Linked DNA regions of Homo sapiens: all the other regions are linked to region 1. The links are contacts of gene promoters, found by promoter capture Hi-C in blood cells and fetal thymus (Javierre and others, 2016). All regions are on one chromosome and are shown on one strand. The core of a region is centred on a gene start or on the middle of the fragment in contact, and the rest is flanking DNA. Distances in the headings are between cores, read along the strand shown. Region 1 holds the start of SOX21 (SRY-box transcription factor 21). Region 2 has its middle 27 kb from the start of LINC00557. Region 3 overlaps ABCC4 (ATP binding cassette subfamily C member 4 (PEL blood group)).

What was found. The method cuts DNA at HindIII sites, captures the fragments that hold promoters and counts their contacts. A CHiCAGO score of 5 or more calls a contact.
Region 2: a contact is called between a fragment that was not itself captured here and the fragment with the promoter of SOX21 in region 1, in 1 of 17 cell types (endothelial precursors). The highest score is 5.3, in endothelial precursors.
Region 3: a fragment that was not itself captured here is called in contact with the fragment with the promoter of SOX21 in region 1 in 1 of 17 cell types (endothelial precursors); the score reaches 6.8 in endothelial precursors.

What each region holds. Positions count from the first base shown.
Region 1 is chr13:94,709,893-94,714,860 of GRCh38, forward strand. SOX21 (SRY-box transcription factor 21) reads right to left here and starts at 2,653. Exons shown (of 1, transcript NM_007084.4): 1 at 1-2,653. The coding sequence starts at 2,157. The coding sequence ends at 1,327. It overlaps SOX21-AS1 (SOX21 antisense RNA 1), which reads left to right and starts at 2,824. Exons shown (of 2, transcript NR_046514.1): 1 at 2,824-3,501; 2 at 3,746-4,968. LOC112268114 (a long non-coding RNA gene) reads right to left here and starts at 3,551. Exons shown (of 2, transcript NR_158368.1): 1 at 3,516-3,551; 2 at 2,828-3,370. RefSeq lists an enhancer at 3,377-3,878. The HindIII fragment of the contact is 9,809 bases long and covers 1-4,752 here.
Region 2 is chr13:94,985,061-94,989,769 of GRCh38, forward strand. No RefSeq gene overlaps it. Among named protein-coding and RNA genes, the nearest start is that of LINC00557, 27 kb to the left of the region's middle. The HindIII fragment of the contact is 784 bases long and covers 2,429-3,212 here.
Region 3 is chr13:95,172,588-95,177,149 of GRCh38, forward strand. The region is part of intron 13 of ABCC4 (ATP binding cassette subfamily C member 4 (PEL blood group)); the gene reads right to left. Among named protein-coding and RNA genes, the nearest start is that of SNORD13G, 35 kb to the right of the region's middle. RefSeq lists an enhancer at 1,856-2,357. The HindIII fragment of the contact is 169 bases long and covers 1,766-1,934 here.

The DNA.
Region 1 (4,968 bases), core at 1,403-3,902:
GCTAATAATTGAAGGTTCCTTTTTTCTAAAATGTGTTTTATTGCAATTTGCAAATGAATTGCAGGTGATCTAAAAAATAAGCCAATTGAGGAGGGAAATCCAAAACACATTAAACCAGCTCAACTTGGGAGAGAAATGCTAGCTGAAAATGAGAGACATCTGTTGAAACAATTCTGTGCTTTTTTTCTTCAGTTTTGCTAAATAATAAATATATAATTACCAGACAAAAAAGTCTGATTTAATCTTCGATAAAATTGCGATTCTGAAATAGTTTCGCAATTTTTAAAAGTTAACTTTGATATTCGCTCAAAATGTTTTTGAGTCTAAAGTCGACTCAAACTTAGGGCAACGAAAATAACACATTTTCCAAGCCTCAATGTTTTCACTGACATATACACATTTACAATCTTAAGGTGAACTCAGCCATAAGGGAAAATAGGAGCAGTGCCTTTTTCCTTTTTTGTAAACTGTGTCAGAAATCCAAGCGAGTGGACTCAGGGAGACTTCTAGTAGTTTGTTGTTGTTGTTTGTTTAGGAAGAAAATCCAATTGACAACTTTCATCTCACAAATATTTCTTGTTTGCGTTTCTTGCCCTTGAGAAAGAGCTCTTGCTCTGATTTGCAAATGGCGTGATAAACAAAAGAAACCGTGATCATCTCACACAAAAGGCCAGATTCGAGCCGGTCACTGGTCAAGAATGGATCTGGTTGGGAGTTCTGCTTGAGAGAACAGAGATCTGCAAAGTTCAAATAGTACAAACAGGGAGGCGAGGCTGCTCAGAGCCATCCCACTCCCAGAAACGAATGACACAAGCAGCTTTTCCCGTGTGCCAGCCATTTCAGACCTCACATTTGAACAGCGTGCATGCAACACGGACCGGGAGGGGGTTGGGGGTTGGGGGGCTGAGGGGCGAGGAAGAAGAATGAGAAACAAAAACAAAACCGACCATGAAACTTCCAACAAAACTGGAAAGGCCAACATGTCAAAAAGTTACTCCTCCACCTCCGTGGGTCAAAACGCAACAGGTTCCGAAGTGCAAAGCAAACGCCAACTGCTGCCGCACACAACCGCCTGCTTTCGAGTTGGCTGCCGAAGTGCGGGTCTGAAATGATCCTGCGAATTCACAGGCCTGCTCGCCCGCGCCCTTGCGCGCTTGGCCACTCCTGCCCCGCCTGGCCTCTCTGCCTCTACCTGGCACCTATACATTCTATGTACATACAAACCGGGCCCCCGGTCGCGGGAGGGCGCACGGGGAGGCCGCAGCGCTCGTACCTATACATATGTACACGTGTGCACACCGGTCCTCGCGAGGCGGCCCCGCGGGGTCATAGCGCGGCAGCGTAGGCCGCGGGGTAGGGGTCCAGCTGGGGCTTGCCCATGCCCGGCAGCAGGATGTAGGCGAGCGGCGGCTGCAGCCCGGGGCTGGGCCACGCGCTGCAGTTGCACGGGATCATGTAGCCCGGGTTGCCCGGGCTGGGGTGCGAGTGCGTGTGCCCCCCGGCGGCGGCGGCCGCCGCTGCAGCCGCCGCCGCCGCGCCGTGGAAGGCGCCCGCGCCCGCGGTCGGGTAGCCCAGCGACGACGCGTACGGGAGGCCGGACGAGGACGACGAGATCTCTGCCATTTTGGAGCCCAGGTCGAGCAGCGAGTAGGGGCTGCCCGCGGCGGCGGCGGCGGCGGCAGCGGCGGCGGCAGCGGCCGACTGCGGGAAGAAGACGCGTGCGGCGGCAGCGGCGGCGGCCGCGGCCGCCTTCTCGGGATTGGCGAGCAGCGACTCAGGCACCAGGCCGCCGCCCGCCCCCGCGTGCAGCCCGGCGCCCGCCTTGAGCGCAGGGTGCTCGGCGTCCGCCACGCCGCCCAGGCCGTAGGGCACCGGGAAGGCGAACTTGTCCTTCTTGAGCAGCGTCTTGGGCTTGCGCCGCGGCCGGTACTTGTAGTCGGGGTGCTCCTTCATGTGCATGGCGCGTAGACGCTTGGCCTCGTCGATGAACGGCCGCTTCTCCGACTCTGTGAGCAGTTTCCACTCGGCGCCCAAGCGCTTGCTGATCTCCGAGTTGTGCATCTTGGGGTTCTCCTGGGCCATCTTGCGCCGCTGAGCCCGCGACCACACCATGAAGGCGTTCATGGGCCGCTTGACGTGGTCCACCGGCTTGGACATGCTCTCGCCCTGCCGCGGCTGCAGCCCGCCGCCTCCCGGGCCCTCGCCCTCGGCCCGGAGGAAATCAATGTTGGCTGCCCGCGGAGACCCGCTCGGCCGGCCGGGGCTCGTCGCGCCCCGGCGTCGCTCCCGCCCCGGAGGAGGGGGCTGGGGGACCAGCCCAGGGCCACGCCGCGCCCCGGGCCGCCTTAGTGTCTCCGGCCGAGCGCTCGAGCAGGTTGTCTCTGGGACACTCTAACTTCTCGGCGGTGCCCCCTCCCCGCGGCGGCAGTTTGCCCTTTACGTTCTTTGGGTCCTTCGTCTGCAGTGGCGTTTGCTGGTGAGCTCCCCGCAGGTAGCGGCGGCCGGGCAGAGCGCTCCTCCTCCTCGGTCGTTCTCTCTTAAATGCAAAGCGTCCCCAAAAGTTGCGTCGCGGAGACTCCTCGAAGTTGAGCCGAGGAGCCCGCCGCCGCGTGCTGCCAAGTGCCAAAGGGGGCTCTCAGCGGCTGGAGTGTTTGGGTTCTCCTCGGTGACTTTCTCATTTGACAGAAGCAGATGGGGGTGGGGAAGGCGGGGAGGTGGCCCTGGAGGAGGAAGAGGAGGGGGAGGCGGAGGAGTGTCCAGGCGTGCCACGAGAACGCAGAGCGCAGCAATGGATATAAATACAAATACAGCAGCACCAGCCTGTCTTCTTGGCTCCGGGCAGGGTGCGCCGATGGGAAACCCCCAATCGGCTGGGTGATTTTTTTTTTTTGGAGGGGGGAGCTGTCCCCCGCAGCACCTGCCTCTCGAGTCTTCCTCTCCCGCTGCTGGACTGACGGGTGGGGCGAGGAAGGAGGGTGGATGAGGCTTGAGCAAGCGTTGGTCGCCCGGCCTCAGAGGAAGTTCTCCCGGCTCGCCGAGGAGCCGCGTCCGGCCGTCCCCTGGGCCATGCCGGCTCTGTTCGCTCCGAGCCCCTTCAGGCGCGCCTGCCGACTTAGGGCTCCCGGAGCTCGCCGGCCGCGGAGGGCAGCGCAGCCTCCACGCGGCGCCGCAGGCCTGGCACCGGCCGCGTCCCCGCCTCGCTCTTCTCGGCAGCCGCCTGGCACTTGCAACTAACTTCGCCCAAGTTTCCTGCGCCGCGGCGCCCCTCTCGGCGCGCTCCTGGGAGCGTGCGCCCGCGAGTCCGCCGCGCCCGGGGCCCCTCTGTCCTCGCTGCTGTGGCCAGAGCCGAGCCGGCGCAGGGGCGGAGGTGCTGCAGGAGAGTTAAGGAAAACGGGCCATCACCTCAGTTCGCAGGTCCGCGCTGTGGCACCTCCCGCTCTCCCCACTCCCGCGGCGCAGGGGGCCCCTTCCCAGCCCAGGCCGCCCTCTGCACCGGCTCAGGTGAGTGTGGCTACCTGCATGTGTGCGCGCCCGGAGCCGGCACTGGGTGTGCATGTCCAGCCGCGGCTGTGTGTGTATATCTGGGGGCCTGCGGAGGAGGTGGAGCCCAGGACTCGGGGAGGGAGGAGGGATCAGCGGAGCCGCCTCCCGCTCCCACACCCCCAGGACCTCGAATTAACAGATCCCCTCCGCCCCCCGCCCCCTCCCAATCCTCCTCCTCCCACTCCTTTTCACTTGAGAGCAGGTTTAGGCGAGTGGAGAGTCCGGAGCGCGCCGGGGAGTCTGCGCCCTGTTTGGCGTTGGCAAACCCTGGTGTCATCCCGGCTACCCAGGCCGGCCTGGCGTGCAGCTGCCCTGGTTGTGGCCCTGGAATCCTCGCCGGGAGGAAGAAGGCGGCGGGCACGAGTAGGAGAGCCTCTCCAGCTACGGAGGAAGAGGGTTAAACCTGGAGAAGGGGAGACTCACCCTTGAAAATGTTTGAGACTGTTCCTAGCAAGAAAGTGCTCATTTTCCTTGGAGGTCCAGGTGTTGCTTGCAACAGAAACAGAGGCTTCTCGCATTTTCTTGCACTGGCGATGCACCTAGTCAGAGGTAGTGGAGTGAAAAATAACTCTGGAGGGAATAAGGACATTCTTGGCAACCTTTCCAAAAAAGAGCTAGCCCAGACTGAGAGTATGCATCCTTGACTGACTATTCAGCTCTTTAAAAATTCTGTGTTGTTTGTCTTTTGTTGTAATCTTGGTCGCCAGAACCATCTATATACTGATCTCTTTAAGGTACAGTTAACTTACAGTGTCTCACTTACATGCGCTGCTGAGGTGAAGGTGTTTAAAATCAATAAGTGTAAGTAGTTTCCCTGGAAGAGAGAAGTAAAACGTACCAATCACTCAGTGCTGGAATATTTTTATGCTAAGCATAATTTCCTTCTTTAGTAGTTAGAGCAGTTTTTTAAAAAAAATAGTTAACACGATGCAGAAGTCAAACAGCATGATTCTGTTTCCGTATTTTCCTCACTTTTTGGTATGCTGCGGCACATTTAGAACATGATCTGTCTGGAGGTTTTATTCACATGGTGGCCTGCCCTTCAGGGAGAACTTGCTTGCCTTCTTTCTTTGGCAGTTTGGATTTGACCTAGCCCTGTGGTATGTGCAAGTAGGAACATCTACAAACGGTTAACTCTTTAAGTCTTCCTACGATTTATGTTCAGTTCATTCACACACACACACACACACACACACACACACACACAAAAGCTTTGATTGTAATTATGAACGTGAATTAAAACTGTTTCAGGCCATCAGATTTATGTAAAAGTTAGGCTTGTTTTGTTCATTTTAATAAAAGAATAGTGACTTAAAAATTACAGTCGTGATAACAAAACTGTGAACAGCAGTGGCATCTATGTGGGTTTTTGTTTTTCTGAAGATGTCGTATTGACAAGCTTATTTTGTATCGGTTATGCCCTTG
Region 2 (4,709 bases), core at 1,571-4,070, 280 kb after region 1:
GAATATTTAAGTTGTTTCCATGTCTTGGCTATTATGAAACACGCTGCAATGAGCATGGAAATGCAGATATGTTTATGAGGTGGTGATTTCCTCTCCATTCGGTATGTGCCCAGAAGGCTCACTGGGTGGTATGGCAGTTCTGTTTTTCATTTCCTTAGGAACATCCATACTGTTTCCCATAACGGATGCAGCAATCTATGTTCCCCTCAACAGTGTATTAGGGTTCCCTTTTCTCCAGACCCTCACCATTTGTTATCTCTTGTCTTTTTGAGAATAGCCATCTGTATAGATGCGAAGATTTTTAAATGTGGTATATATGCACAATGGAATATTATTCAGCTTCAAAAAAGGAGAGTCTGCCATTTGCCACCACATGGATGGATCTGGAGGACATTATGTTAAGTGAAATAAATCAGACACAGAAAGAAAAATATTGCATTATCTCACTTATATGTGGAATATATATATTTTTTAAAGCACTCAAATGCACAGAGAGAGAGAGAGTTGTTATCATGAGAGGGGTGTCAGGTAGGGACAGGAAGGAAATGAGAGATCTAGTTTAAAGGATACAAAATAGCAGATATGTAAGATAAACAAGTTTAGAAGCCTAATGTACCACATCAGCACTAAAGTTAATACAGTTATATTGTATTATATTTCTAACACTAACGTTTTTGCTTTTGAAGCATTATTTACCCTGGATCTTAAATTTCTATAAGTTGTGATTATGCTATTAAGATTGGATTTGTTCTTATATAGAGATTACCCTTATTCTCTAATAACACTATTCAATAAATATCAAATAGAAACTACTGTTTAAAAAAATAAACAAAAAGCTCAGATGAAGCAGAAAGTATAACCTGGCAAGATGAAGCCAGGTTATACAATTATATTGTGTTAGGGATTTTTGTTAAATAAGTATATTTTAACATCATGTTCTAAACCTCAAATATATACAATATTTGTTAAAAAATTAAAAATAAAAAGATAGGGCTGGGCATGGTGGCTCACACCTGTAATCCTAGCACTTTGGGAGGCCAAGATGGGTGGATAACCTGAGGTCAGGGGTTCGAGACCAGCCTGGCCAACGTGGTAAAACCCTGTCTCTACTAAAACTACAAAAATTAGCTGGACATGGTGGTGGGGGCCTGTAATCCCAGCTACCTGGGAGGCTGAGGCAGGAGAATCACTTGAACCCGGGAGGCAGAGGTTGCAGTGAGCCGAGATGGGGCACTGCACTCCAGCCTGGGTGAGAGAGTGAGACCCTGTCGCAAATAAATAAATAAATAAAAATTTTAAAAAGATAGAATAGGAAGTAATAGTAATAATGCATGCTAATTACCTACACCTTTTAATTAATGGAGTTGTTTATCAGGCTTCCAATATCCAGGCAGGAGTCTCTTCTATTCTTTTTGGAGGCGTACTATCTTGCAAATTTAGTGTTAAGTGTGGAATGAACCCAGTGATCTCCACGTAATTCATAGGAGCCCTCCTAAGCCTAAAGATTCAGTTTAATTGAAGATGTTAATAAGATGTATATTTTGCCAGTGTCGGGCTCTGTCACCCAGACAGGAGGGCTGGAGTGCAGTGGTGTGATCACAGCTCACTGCAGCCTCAATCTCCTGGGCTCCAGCAATCCTCTCACCTTAGCCTCCCAAAACAAACAGCTGGGACTACAGGTGCATGCACTACATCCAGCTTTTTTTTTTTTATTTTTATTTTTTTTAGAGACAGGGTCTTGCTATGTTGTTCAGGCTGGTCTCAAACTCCTAGCCTCAAGCAATCTGCCCGCCTCAGCCTCCCAAAGTGCTGAGATTATAAGCAAGAGCCACCACACCTGGCCAACCTGGTCTTTGATGTTGCTTGATCTTTTCACAGAACTTGCTGTCTTGACTTTGGCCGTTTTCAACGGTGTGACATGGAATGAATTAAAACTATCTTGGGTGAATGTGCAGGAAACAAGTCAGATCTTTCTAAACACTTACTTCTATAAATACAGGAATTAAATTGTTTTCCTCCTGAAGAGGTCTACTGAAAGAGGCTCAATTTAATTCAGATTATTTCTATTCAAATCAATATAAAATAACTTTTGGCCGGGCGCAGTGGCTTATGCCTGTAATCTCAGCACTCTGGGAGGCCAAGGCAGGTAGATGTGCTGAGAGAGGGCAGTCCTCTCCTGTATGAATGATTGAGTCCCAGAAACTTTGAATGGAGGCTTGCCAAGAGATTCCGCACTGTAACTCTGTCCATTCCGCACTGTAACTCTGTCCTCAAATGCCCACCAGGTAGAGGGTGTGGCCTGGAAAAACGTTTGCACATAATCATTTTCCATTCAGTCATCATAATAAGTACAGTTCCCACAGTTGGTTGATTAGGGTTGTTTGGGCCACTGCAAAAGGGTTCTGCTTCTGCCTGAAAATGATCCCTAAGCTTCCTTTCTGGTCTTCCCCTTCTGTCCTGATCATGAAGCAAGCTAGCAGTCCTGGAACACTTTATGAGTTTCCTAAGGGTACTGTAACAATTGATCATGAATCTGATGGCTTGAAACAACGGAAATTTATTCTCTCACATTTCTGGCCAACATGGCGAAACCCCATCTCTGCTAAAATACAAAATTAGCCAGGTGTGGTGGTGCATGCCTGTAATCGCAGCTACTTGGGAAGCTGAGACAGGAGAATTGCTTGAACCTGGGAGGTGGAGGTTGCAGCAAGCCGAGATCGCGCCATAGCACTCCAGCCTGGGCAACAAGGGTGAAACTCTGTCTCAAATAAATAAATAAATAAATAACTTTTTAGGTACATACTATTTTTCAGGTGTTTGAGGAATGAATGGATTCATTAAAAGCCTAGATGGCCAAATCAGGCACTTCAGTTTAGTAGATCATAGAATCCCAGACTTTAAAAGCTGGAAGGAACAGTAAACAGCTAACTAGATCTGTGATTTATAGGTGAGTAAGCAGAGGCCATAGTTAAGCAATGACACATGTTAAAAGTCAACAGCTAGTAAGTCAGCTTGAACCAAAATCTCAGGCCCACACCAAGTCCAGGGATCTTTCCATAGGTCAGTCCTCCTTTTATATCTTGAGTAAAATCTGTCTTGTGTGAAGTCACCCTTCTAACTGTGTTTTAAACTCTCTGCTAATAGGGCCATGATTAACAATGACATATCCACTCAATGGAGTATTACGCAGCCATTAAAGATAATATTTATGAAGCTTGTGTAATAACATAGAAGAGTGGCCAGGGAGTAACAATACGGGAAGAAGCAGGAAATAAAGCTGCATGTATAGCTTAATGGCAATGCTATTAAAAGCCTTTACATAGAAACAAAAAGTGGAAAAAAATTAGAAAGTTATTTGCACTTATATTTGAATGGTGAGGCTAGCAAAAATTGTTTCCCCTATTCCTACTCTCCAATATTTTAAAACCTTTAGAGATATACACACTTTTAAGGTGGAAAAGTGAAAACAACTCTTCTGCCATATTCAAAGATAGTTAAGCCAAAGCCCTTTTGCTGTGGGTCTGAAGATGTTTCTAGAGCAGAATAAACACTCAAAACCAGAGACAAGCAAACCATCCACTGGAGGAGTTGGAGTGAGGGCACGAGTGGTGCTCTCCTGAGCTTTCTTTTGCAGGGAGACTGGGAGGGTATGAAGTAGTCGGGTCATTGGAGGCAGGAGGGCTTTCTCCACCCAGTGTTCAGTCTGAGCCATGGAAAAGAAGAGTGATTAAAAGGCACAACAGAGAGAAGCTCTCCCTAACACCAACCAACAAAGATCCTCTCCCAGCACCAGGGAGCAGACTTGAGCAACAAGCTCACTTGTGCGTGCACAGTACAAGAAGGCTCCTGACCCTAAGAAATGAAAGAGCCTAATTAAAATGGGGAAACCCTATGCTTCACTGCACCACTCAGCTACTCATTTAAATCACTATTATGAAATATGTATGAACTCTATTTCTCTGCAAATGCTGATCTAGAACACCTTTCCTGGATCACCCCTTTCAGTAAATACAGCATATTCCCACTAGAATCTACCTTAACAACTATGTTGAGGCATAAATGAAATAAACTGCACATATTTAAAATATGCATTTTGAAACATGCATTTTGAAGTTTTGATTTGTTTATACACCCATGAAACCACAGCCACTATTAAGATACCAACATTTTCGTCATTCCAAGTTTCCTTGTGCCCTTTCCCTTCAACTCTGTCTAAACCCTTCCACCACCCCCAGGCAACCATTCATCTGCTTTCTGTCACTATAGATTCTTTTTCATTTTCTAAATATGTATACAAGTGGAATTACATAGTATGTATTCTATGTCTGGTTTCTTTAACTCAGAATAATGGCTTTGATATTCATTCAAGTTGTTAAGGGTATCAGTTGGTGGTTTCTTCTGATTGATCATCAGCATTCCGTTGATCAGTATTCCATTGATCCATTAATTAATGATCTATAATATTTTGAAGGTATTACAAATTAAGCTGCTGTAACAATTCATTACAAGTCTTTGTGTGGACAAATGTTTTTATTTATCTTGGGTAAATAGCTAGGAGTGGAATAGCTGAGTTCCATACCTGTTAGGTGTATGTTTAACTTTTTAACTAAATACCAAACTGTTTTCCATTTTACATAGGCACAGCAGTGGTTGAGAGTTCCGGTTGCTCCACATCCCTGCCATCACTGGGTATATTCAGTCTTTAGCCA
Region 3 (4,562 bases), core at 600-3,099, 460 kb after region 1:
AGACAACATTAAGAGCTGACACATACAATGTTGGAGGTGACACAAGTGAGAAAGATATAGTCAGTTGGTGCAGTGGCTCACACCTATAATCCCAGCACTTTGGGAGGTTAAGGCAGGAGGATCTTTTGAACCCAGGAGTTAAAGGCCAGTCTGGGCAACATGGAGAGATCCCATCTCTACAAAAAAACACGAAACTTAGCCAGGAGTGGTGGTGTGCACTTGTAGTCCCAGCTACTCGGGAGGATCACTTGAGCCCAGGAGGTAGAAGTTGCAGTGGGCCGTGATCATGCCATTGCACTTCAGCCTGGGTGACAGGGCAAAACTCTGTCAAAAAAGGAAGGAAGGGATGGAGGGAGGGAGAGAGGGACAGATACAGTCACTACCTTCATTCATTCAGTTAAGATACATTTGCTGAGCACTGACGAAGTACCAGGGACTACTCTAAGTGATGAGGATACATCCACTGGTCAAGCAAACAGACAACACCCTGAGTCGTGTAGGGACACTCACTACACAAACACAGAAAACACACTATTGGATAGTAAAGTAAACCATGAAGAGACAGCCAGGCAAAGGTTGTACTTTAGAGGGAGTGGCCAGGAAAGTCCTCTCTGCAAGGAGGTGATGTATGAGCCATGAGACTATCTGGGGGAAGCATTCCTGGCAGATACAGCAGGTGCAATGGTCCCGGGGCACAAATGCGCTGTGCAAAGGCACCTTCATGCATTCGCAGTCTAGTGCGGGGGCTGGAGGGAAGAACACATAGGTGGATCAAGAGCAGCTCATTGAGGGCTGTGGGAAGACAGAGAAAGCGCCATGCCCTCCGAGGAGCAGAAGAGAAAGGCAGGAGGTAGGATCTGTGTCTTTCATTTTTCTCTTTTGCCCAGGCAAACTATCCCTGGTTGTCCAACGGCAGGAAAAATACCCTTACAGACAGGCAGACGTGAGAAATTCACACCTCCTTCCAGGCACCCCAAAGAAGTGTGCATGGCTGGAGGACTGGTCTTGCATGGCAAGGGTTGGAAAGGTGAATGGGGCAGACTGCAAAGGGCAATTTGCCATTCGAGGACTTAGAACTGTAGCTTAAAAGTAGGGGAGTCCTAGAGGACCTGAAAGAGGGAAGGTGAACTAGTGCTGTGCCTGAATGTTTGTGGCCCTCCCCAAATTCCTACTGAACCCTAATCACCAATGTAATGGTATTAGGAGGTGAGGCCTATTTCATGAGAATCTGCCAACACAAATGGTATTAGTAGAAGGGGCCAGCCCAGGGAAGCTGCCGTACCCCTTCCACAGTGACAAGACAGCTGTCTATGAACCAGAGCGTGAGCCCTCTCCAGGCACCAAAACTGCTGGCGCCTTGATCTTGAATCTTGTCCTCCAGAACTGTAGAAACAATTTTCTATTGTTTATATGGAGTACCTAGTTTATGCTATTTTGAATCAGCAGCCTGAATGGACTAAGACAAATAGGTAGGCAACAGTGTGGGAGATCTGATTAGGAGACTCAAAGAGGCAGGGGTCTGAGAATTTGAGGCTTTCTAGAACACAACCACATCTATAGCAGGCAACAAATTGGATTAGCATCCTTTAATCTAAGTGACCCTCACTTTTTGTATGTGATAAAATCCACTTAGTGTTTGCAACATATAGTTGTAAAACACAACTCTTAACAACTCTCGATATATATTCATGATTGAAGTAAAACTGTTAATGGCAAATAGAAGCGTAATTCATTCACTTTTAATACAAAACACTTCACATTTCTAAGCTTCAACACAACCGCCATCTTTCATAGCATATTGTTCAATCCAATTTTCTAACTCGTTGAGAACATTCTCCAGTTGCTGCTGAGTGATTTCCTAAATTGCATTCGTGCTCCCTGCCCTAAGTTTCCCCAAAGAATGTGATTCTGATTAGCAAACAACAATTTTAACAAGCTTGCTTCTAACAAGCATATATCCAAAGTCATTAATCCTTAAAGGTGCAAGAGGACTTTATAAATACCTCCTGTGTTCAAATGAAAATCTGAGGGAGCTTGTGCGATACGCACACTGATACTCAGCAATGAAAATACCTTCCTCCTTCCCCGCGGCGACTCTAAACAGCGTCCCACCGGGAATTGTTGTTTGAGTGATAAAGAACTGGTGGGGCCTCGCGCAAGACTCAAGCAAGCCACAGAGGCCCTTCTCGGCGAAATGGAAAATTCATCAAGGCACAATGAGGAGGGAGCAGGAAACGAGGCTCTGATCAGACTGCTGCGGCAATGCCAAGTGCCAGCTTATCCTGCACTCTGCATTCAGAAAGATTCAATGCTGCCATCCACGTTTTTTTTGGTTGTGGAAAAATAGACAAGACATAACATTTACCATTTACACCATTTTTAATTGTATAGCTTGGTCGCGCTAAGTACATACACACCATTGTGCAACCATCACCATCATACACATCCACTTCATCATCCCATACCAGGCACATTTTGCATACGCACTCTGGTGGGTAAACGTTCAGGAACCCACGTAGAGCCCCATGCTCAGTGGATGACTTCATGTCCAAACCCCTGGAATCCAGAGCCCAGAGATGAGTTACTCTCACACAGCCGACTCGCTATCCACTTTGCTATCCAGGACTTGTTATGGACTGAACCATGCTCCCCTCAAAGTTCCTATGTTCCAGCCCTCACCCTAGCACCTTAGAAATTGAACAGAGAACCTTTTTTAAAATTTTTTTTTTATTATTATTATTTTTGAGACAGAATCTCACTCGTCATCCAGGCTGGAGTGCAATGGCGCTATCTCGGCTCACTGCAACCTCCACCTCCTGGGTTCAAGCAATTCTCCTGCCTCAGCCTCCAGAGTAGCTGGGATTACAGGCACCCGCCACCATCCACCACTGATTTTTGTATTTTTAGTAGAGATGGGGTTTCACAACGTTGGCCAGGCTGGTCTCGAACTCCTCAGGTGATCTGCCTGCCTCGGCTTCCCAAAGTGCTGGGATTACAGGCATGGGCCACAGTGCCCGGCCAACACAGAACCTTTAGAGAAGTAATTACACTAAAATGAGGCCATGAGGGTGGGCCCTACTCTAATCTGACTGGTGTCTTTTCAGGAAGAGGAGATTTGGATACAGAGACACAAGGAGAAAAGGGTGAGAAGGCAGCCATCAGCAGGCCAAGAAAGCCCTCGGGAGGAGCTGCACCTGCAGATGCATTGATCTCACACATGCAGTCTCCAGAACTCTGCAGAAACAACCTGCCGCTGTGGAAGCCCCCCAGCCTGTGGCATTTTGTGAGGGCAGCCCTGGCTGGCCAACACAGGACTTCCAGAGCTTTCTCTCACGGTACCTTCTCTATCCCCCACCACAGGAACAGGTGCCTGCCTGCTGTCCTTCCCACAGGCCTCACTCCTTCCCGTCTGCACACCTCTGCTTCTACTATTTCTTTCAAAGGAATTGAATCCTACTCTCAGCCACCACAAACCCTTACCAGCCTGCAGGACCACAGGCTACTTCCAGCCAAGCCCGGCCCTCAGTGACCTTTCCAATCTCTGCTGCCCACTTCTTCCATTTAAAAAAAAAGATTGTCGTATGCCAGGTGTAGGGGCTCACACCTGTAATCTCAGCACTCCAGGAAGCCGAGGGCAGGGGGGGGGGGGGGGGGGGGGTGGATCCCTTGAGCCCAGGAGTTCGAGACCAGCCTGGGCAACATAGGGAGACCAGCCTAGACAACATGGCAAAGCCCCCTCTCTTCAAAAAAACACTGAATGAGCTGGGCATGGTGGTGCTAGCCTGTAGTCACAGCTACCCGGGAGGCTGAGGCAGGAGAATCTCTTGAACCCAGGAGGTCGAGGCTGCAGTGAGCTGAGAATGCACCACTGCACTCCAGCCTGGGCAACAGAGCGAGATCCTATCTAAAAAAAAAATAATAATAAAATAGATTGTCCTATATTGAAATCCCCTAAGCCTTGGGGTCTGTTGAACTTTTCCCATGCACTTAGTCTTGATCCATGCAGAGACAAATTCCTTATGGGCAAGAATGAAATCTGAACTTGTCTCTCTCTCACTCAGCCCAGCATGGGTGCTTATCTTCTCTGTGGCTGACTGCCCTCCTCTGCAAGCGAAGATGTTTCATGCAGTAGCATCTGCAGGAGCATCTACCTCAGTGTGCGCAGAAGGGTTACAATGAGTGGGAAAGGCTCACTGACTTTAACAAGGCGAAAAACAGGAAGCTGACTGTGGGGCAGATGTGAGTGCTGTTTTGGCAAAACCAGTTCACAATGCTTTCAAAAAGGCCAGTCTAGACTATGTAGGAAGTGTCAGTCGGCACACATGAGTTTATAGAATATACAGAAAAGATTCCAGAGTAGTTCTACCTCCATGGCTCAGTGTCTAAGCAAGAGCCAAAGAAAGAAAATCCCAGAAACACCACGTAAGAGTTGGGAGGGAAGCCAGATTCTAGACAACTAGTTTCAAAGGCAAGCCAGGCCTACATGCCTGTGGGTTTTAAGTGTTCACTCTGGTAAGAATCCATGAAGCAACATTAGATTCTTGAAACCACAGTCTACTATG